Linked DNA regions of Homo sapiens: region 2 is linked to region 1. The links are contacts of gene promoters, found by promoter capture Hi-C in blood cells and fetal thymus (Javierre and others, 2016). All regions are on one chromosome and are shown on one strand. Each heading gives the region's core, a stretch centred on a gene start or on the middle of the fragment in contact. The rest is flanking DNA. Distances are from core to core; before and after follow the strand shown. Region 1 holds the start of TCHHL1 (trichohyalin like 1). Region 2 has its middle 33 kb from the start of CRNN.

The links. The method cuts DNA at HindIII sites, captures the fragments that hold promoters and counts their contacts. A CHiCAGO score of 5 or more calls a contact.
Region 2: a contact is called between a fragment that was not itself captured here and the fragment with the promoter of TCHHL1 in region 1, in 3 of 17 cell types (M2 macrophages, non-activated CD4 T cells and M0 macrophages). The highest score is 5.9, in M2 macrophages.

The regions. Positions count from the first base shown.
Region 1 is chr1:152,087,111-152,090,701 of GRCh38, forward strand. TCHHL1 (trichohyalin like 1) reads right to left here and starts at 1,954. Exons shown (of 3, transcript NM_001008536.2): 1 at 1,910-1,954; 2 at 896-1,053; 3 at 1-433. The coding sequence starts at 1,033. The HindIII fragment of the contact is 6,885 bases long and covers 1,497-3,591 here.
Region 2 is chr1:152,445,896-152,449,486 of GRCh38, forward strand. No RefSeq gene overlaps it. Among named protein-coding and RNA genes, the nearest start is that of CRNN, 33 kb to the left of the region's middle. The HindIII fragment of the contact is 1,692 bases long and covers 1,212-2,903 here.

The sequences.
Region 1 (3,591 bases), core at 704-3,203:
CCTGACTTTGTTCATCTCCTTCCAGGTGTTTGTTCTTAGGATCATTGTGTTCAGATGCTTCTCCTGGAAAGTTGTGAGTCTTGGCTTCTCTCCATGGGTCCACTCTGTTATTTCCAACTGCTCCACTTTCTTCAGGGATGAGCTGAGATGATGATGCCATTCCTGAAGGAAGCATCCTCTTTTCTTGAGTTGGTGAAGTTCCCACTGTCCACTGACCATCTCCGGTGGTTGCCTGAACATCCACATCATCTAGCTTCTCCTTCTCTGGTTTAGTCACCTGTCTTAGTTCAGAACTTAGTAATGATTTTATGTCAAGATAACAGAGGTTCAACAAGTTGAAGATTGCAAGAACAAATTCATCAAAACTGATGATGCCATTACTGTCAATATTCAGAAGATTTGAATTTTTTTCCACAGCATGAAGGACACAGGGCTGCATGAAAACACAGTGAGAAATCAGCTTATTTATATGTGGTCCAGTGTCCTAAGTGTCTCCCAAGAATCCTATTTTTCTGACCTCATTCCTCAGTAACTGGTTAACTTTCCCAGAACAGCAAGAACTTATTGGTTCTGCAAGCCATTTTTCATCAGAGAGCTATGCCTGAGAAAGAGCATTTACAACACTTGTGAGTTGCATTTTGATGCATAATGGTTTATGACTCCTTTCAGAAGTCAGCTTTGCAGAAGCAATAATCCCAGTGACGAAAACCTCTTTTTCTCTAAGTAATTGCACAGAGTATGGAACTGAGACTGAAAATAGTTGTTCAAGAGACAGTGAGTGCTGAGAACTGTTAGCTAGGTGTAAAATGGATGGGGATCACATATGCTCATCTTGCTTGGATTATAAAGAAAGGGTGAGTTGGAAAGAATTTACACAGCTCTGTGAGAAGCTCACCTGAAAAAAGTCCCCAAACTCGCCCTGGATGAGTTGTTTCAGCTCTCTGCCAGTCAGTGTTGCCCCGTTACTGTCCTCACTGGCATATTTGTGGAATGTCTCAATTACACAGAGGACATTTCTCAGGAGCTGAGGCATCTTTACAAACTCAGGAGAGGCTGTGAGAAAGAATAAACAAAGCTCATTTTCCAGGATGGGTCCTTCAGGGAGGAGATACCAAGATTATCCTTTTTGTTCCTCCCCCATCTCCACTGCAACCCCTGCTCTATTCTGTATCTTAAAATATTATATCTGAACTCCAGGGGTGATTTAGTATTGTACCAGACATTGTGGTGAAATCAGACCCAGCATAGGTAAGTATTAGAAGAGACAATTCACCCCACTCTTCAGTAAACAGCAACATTCATGTGCTCAGAGAAAGCTTCATTGCAAAAGGAAGGTGATAAGAGAACTCAAGCATAAGGATTGAAATGCATAAATGAAGCCAATAGAGTTGGACCCATTCTTCCAGCCTCATCCAAGAGTGTCTATCTGCTCTCCTCTCCCTTTGGCTCAGTCTAGCCTCCTGCGGTTAGGAGGGTATAACCTTTAAAGTTAGCAAAGCTTCTAGTGGAAAGATAAGTCACACCAAGAAAATTAACCCCTATGTTTGCAGGTGGTAACAACATGCTTTAACCAAGAAGACATGATTCCATGTCCCGACCCCTTATTCATTCATTTCCCATCCTTTAAATGCTTCTACATTTTCATTGCAATAGAGATCTGATCCTGTGCCTTGTTGAATAATATTCATGCCTATGACTTCTAAACAATTTATGTTTTTTTTAAAAAGAAAATGATCAAAGAAGTTCCATAATCAAGGAATGCATTTGGGTGGTTGGCGCTCCCAGTTTATTATTATTAATAGGGGTTGACATAGACTTAAAGTGTGTTTCCTTTGAAATCCTCTTGCAATCTCACATATAAGCAAAACAGCAACTGAAATCCCAAGTATGCTCAAGCAGATGGACTTACCTAGTTCACAAGCGAGAGCAGGTAGAACGTGGGGCAGCGGGCTGTGAGCTGACAGCAGGAGCTGGAACCTTTTATTGAGGTCCTAATTGCACAGTTAAGAAGGAGACACCCTCTGGGTCTAATGACCTGACATCACCACCAAATCCAGTCTCCCCTGCTCTGTTGTCAGTTGTCTTAATTTTATTTCCTTCTTTAGGCAGTTTCAATTAAATCTTAGCTTCAGATGCATCAAAAGAAAGGGGAGGGGGTTTCTTGATTCATTTACTGACTTTTGCAGATTATAGTTTTGAAGGCTCTTCAAGGTAGTGTTGGCTTCCCTCCCCCATTTTTTAACCTAAGGACATAATTACATTTCTGTCTGACAAATCATAGTGCTGGCAGGGACCTCATAAGTCATCTGATTCCTCTGTCTGCCCACAAGATGGCCCGTATTTGACCCAAACCTGAGAGATGGGTGTCAATCATGTGTTTAAAAATAAAGGCCCCCATTTAGCCATGTGACAAAAGTGGAGATACCAGTTGATTCAGATGTTTCAATGCTTTGCTCTCCTTGCCCAGAGGCAGAGTTAGAAAAAAAAAAAAATTCTTGCTTGGTGTGCAAAGCCTTGCTTACCTATGTTGTGCTATTTTAAAAACGTGATTGATATTTGCTTTCTAAAGACATTTTTACTATACAAGGAGCTTGAAACCAATAATCTATATTACTGTGTTCTCCCTGTAAAGGGGAAAGGGAGATGTTGAAATCATCAAGCTGAGAACAGAAGTGAGTCTGAGATGCTGAACTGGCAAACATTTTAATTGTCTCCTAGATCTGGGTCCTTCTTAGTAGAGAATATTTAATAAAATAAGAATTAGATTCAATGGTTTTCTTAGATATTTTTAAAAAATAGAGTATGTTTTAAAACACTCCTTGTCAAAGGATGGAAGAAATAGACAGATCAATGCAAACAAATATAAAAGACACAGACCAAGTTAAAGATGGGGTGGGAATGGGGGTAATTATATGAGAAAGCTGAAGCTAAGGGATGCATTGCTATTGAGCAAAAACCTTATTCTGAATTTCCTGATTATCGAGGAACATACAAGGGAACTAAATTTTGGGGAAAAACATTCATACTGATACTTTACACCTACAAACAATTTCTCAGCATCCTCCCAAAGGGAGAAGACTTCTGGGAATTGGAATTGGCATGTGAAGGTCATCTTAGTTCTGATTAGTTAATATCCCCAGAGTACCAGCTATTTCTCAACACTATGCCAGGAACTGGAGTGTTTAGAGTTGAGTAAGTTATATCTTCCTGCTCTGGAGCTCATGGGCCAGTCTCATGAAGAACTGGGTATATTCAAGGCTGGATTGGAAAGAAACACTTATGGGAGACATAATAACTGTCTTCAAATACTTGAAGGATTTTTATGGGTGTGGAAGAGAAAAGAATTAATGTTTATTGAAAACTTATGACATGTCAGGAGCTTTACATGGGCTATCTTAATCCTCACAGCCCTTTTAGGTAGTTATTATCCTCTTTTAACAGATAAGGAAGTTAAGGCTGTTAAGCAATTTGCCTACAGATATGTACCTTTACTAGGTAATGGCAGAGTCAGGATTCAGAAATGAAAGGTTTCAAGAAAGTATGTCTCTGGGCCAGGCGTGGTGGCTCACGCCTGTAATCCCAGCACTTTGC
Region 2 (3,591 bases), core at 808-3,307, 360 kb after region 1:
GCCACACCTTTTAATTAAGGACTCAGATCTAGTGGAGCATCCACTCAGGCTCAGGGCAAACATAGGGGAGCTAGGGTGCTATGGGTGGGAGTTGAGGACCTAAGATATAGTTACTCTAGAATTGTACCTACTTGGCTTTTTCCATAACTCACCCATGTGGAGCTACTATATAGTTCTAAGACCAATGGCCTAAGAGAGTGGTCCTAAGTTCTTGGTGACCACATTCAATTCAGAGGTTTTGCTGTTGTTTTGTAGCTTTGTGATCAGATGTCCTGATTATGCATTTACAGAAACACTGTCCTCATTGGAATCAGTCTCTAACAGCCAACTCTATGAGCTGAGGAGGTAGAGTATCCTCCTGAACTGAGTTGCCTTCAGCGATGTCCTTCCTATTTTCAGAGGATAATGAAAGGTGATCTGTCATCCCATACAGCACCAGCCTTAAGAATCTTGAGTAGTCATTTCCTAAGGTCATGTCTTCCTGGCATTAGGCAGAAACCTGTGTCCTATTTCTGTCACATAGGATGTATGAGATGAGTGTCAGAATGGTTCTTCAGAGGCGCTTTAAGGAATAAAGTCTATCCCCTGATGCTGTCTGGCCAGGAAGAGGCTGTAGAGGTTGATGGTAGGGCTGGCCTCAGGGATGCAAAAGAGAATTAATGTGGTTAGGGATTCCTGTGTGCTGGGAATCGAAGAGGTACTTTAACCTCTGAACATCTTTAGAGGACACTGTGGAGAAATAGCAGAGACTGGAGAGGGAAAACTCAGGAGGTGATCACATTTAGGAGGTACTAGGAAAAGGAGTCACTTGAAGGAAGCAGGAACCAGAGATGGTCACAGAGCTATATAAGATCCATGTCTCTCATGGCCAGGCCTCCCAGTCAATTCCACTCCCATGTACTGAGCACTTCCTATGTATACCTGCTCCATTCAGCCCTGGGAATACAGTCATGAATGAGAAATGCACCTGTTCACAAGAAAATTCCACACTCTACCTGGGAGACAGAAGCACAAAACAAAAACAACAAAAAACACAGCATGACAGATATTCTGTTAGTGATATAACAAAGGAAGAGAGGAGACGTCAGGTTCTGTGAACACTTCAAAGAAAAAATAATGTTTGAACCTCACCTTGAAGCATGGATGAGGGATGAACTGGTATAGGAGGGTTGGCAAAGCATATTGGTCAGAGGGAAAAGCAAAGTCCCAGAAGCTTAGAAGGACATGGAATAATCCAGCCTTGTGGGGAAGAAGGTGGTTTCCAATGGAGGGAATGTCAAAAGTGGCAAAGGCTTGTAAGAGGCTAAGCAGGAAGAAAAGGTTGCAACCAGAGTCAATAGTGACTGCAACCTCGATTGTGTGTGTGTGCACGCGTGTGTGCCCCTCTGCTTGTGTGTGTATGCTGATGCATGGCTATGAGTGTCTGTGTGTGTATGTGTGACTATGAGTGTGTCTCTGTGTATACCGAAGATGTGAGTAAGTAGAGGCTCCTCTATTTATTCCTTTAAAAGGATGTTCATTAAGCACCTATCACATGCTAGGCACTGGGAGAAGGGAGGTGAATTAGAAAGACACAGACCCCTACACTGAGGGAACTCACACTCTAATGGGGAAGGCAGGCAAGGCACTAATAAACAAAGAAAAGTACAGCACGATAAGTGTGAGGAAGGAAATAGTCATGATGATGTGACACAGCATAATCATGGAGGCAGGGTACACCTTCAGGTAGCCAGGCCAGAAGGCCTCTCCCAAAAGGAGGCGTTTGAGCAGAGCCCTGAGGATGAGAAAGGGGATTATAGGCAGAGGGAACATTTAGAACAAACAGGAACAACTTGGTGCACATGAAAAGGACAAAAGAGGCTGTCAGTAGGGCTTGAGTGTAGCCAGCGAGGGCCAAAGAGGCAGGAGACGACTTTTAGTGAGTTTGAATCTTATTCTAAGAGCAGAGAAAAGCTGTTGAAGAATTTTAAGCAGGGAAAACATACTCCTAGATTTTTAAACGAGTCCTCTGGATGCTACATGGAGCTTGAACAGGAAGGGCCAAGAGTAGGAGCTGAGGGACTACCTTGAGGGGCTACTGCCATGGCCCAGGTTAAAGGGATGGTGGCAGAGGAGACAGAGAGAAGGTGGGCAGCTTCAAAATAGATTTGGCAATGGAGTGAAGAGGACTCGAAGTGGGGGAAAGGGGTGAGGGAAAAAGAAGAAGCAGGGGTGACATCTGGGTTTGGGGCGTGATCCAAACAAGCATAGAATCTTCTTAAGAATTTTGTGTCCTGTGTTCTGGACATCTCTCCAGACTAGACTCTGCTCCTGTGGCAAGGCTGTGGTGAGGCAATTGTGGGGGAGCTAATGTGGTTAGGGCTTTCTTTTGGTTCTGCAAGATCAAAGAGATGACTTTGCCCAGGGCTCCTCTGAGAACTGCCAGAAGTTTGCAAAGCTGGCTCCTGCCTGAGTAGTTAGCTCATGCTCTTAGTGCCAGGGATAAATGGAGACTACTTTGATTTATTCAACCTGTATTTATTAAGCAGTTGCTGTGTGCCCAACCCTGTTCTAGGTTCTGGGAATACAGTCGTGAACAAAACATACAAAAAAACCTACCCTCACATAGCTTTATAGTTGAGTGGTCTAACAATAGGTACAATAAGAAATAAACAGTGTCAAAGAGATACAAGAGTTATGAGAAAAGGTGGGGAGGAGGGGTAGGGAGTGCTGAAGGCAGGTGGAGGGGTGGGGACTGAGAATGGAAATATGGGAGGAATGTCAGGCTACGGAGTGTTCAGGGACTACTCCACAGAGCAGCCTTTCTGGGGCTACTGTGGCTAAAGGGGCATCGGCCACTGCCTGCAGTCAGGGTCGACACATCATATTTGCTTTCTTCTTAGTGCTTACCGCACTCCGTGATAAGCTTGTTTATTTATTTGTTTGCTAGTTTATTACTTTTTCAAATCAGATGAATTTTGGTATGATTCTGATAGGTGTAAGTTTTGGGAAAAGATGAAAATGGTGGTTGGGTTGGGATTGTGAAACGCTAGTGTTAAATCAAGTTTAGCCTAAAACTGCCTTCTTATATATTGTAAGTTCAGCCTAAAGGTTTCCTGTACATCGTGAATTATAACCTAAATGGAGTTTTACACAGACCGTAGCCTACTCTTGAGTCAATCACTGAGTTTTGGCCAGTTGAAGGTGGCCAACTATTCACACTGTGTTCAAATACTGCAAAGACCAAGCTGTAACCAATTCAGCTGTTTCTGTACCTCATTTCTGTTTTCTGTATGTCACTTTCCTTTTTCTGTTCATAAATCTTCTTCCCCAACGTGGCTGTGCTAGAGTCTCTGAGCCTACTGTGGCTTAGGAGTCTCCCCAATTAGCACATTGTTCTTTGCTCAATTACCGTCCTTTAAATTAAATTCAGCTGAATTTTTTCTTTTAACACCAGCAACGACCTAAGGAGCTGAGCTCAAATTTGGAAGATGCTAGACCTGGATATTGGGTTCACATTTTGAACCTAGTCCTGGGTTCAAGTTGCAGAGGCTCTTCTGATTGGAGTAGAAGGGAAGTATCCTGATGGAAGGGGGGTTTGGAGAAACAATT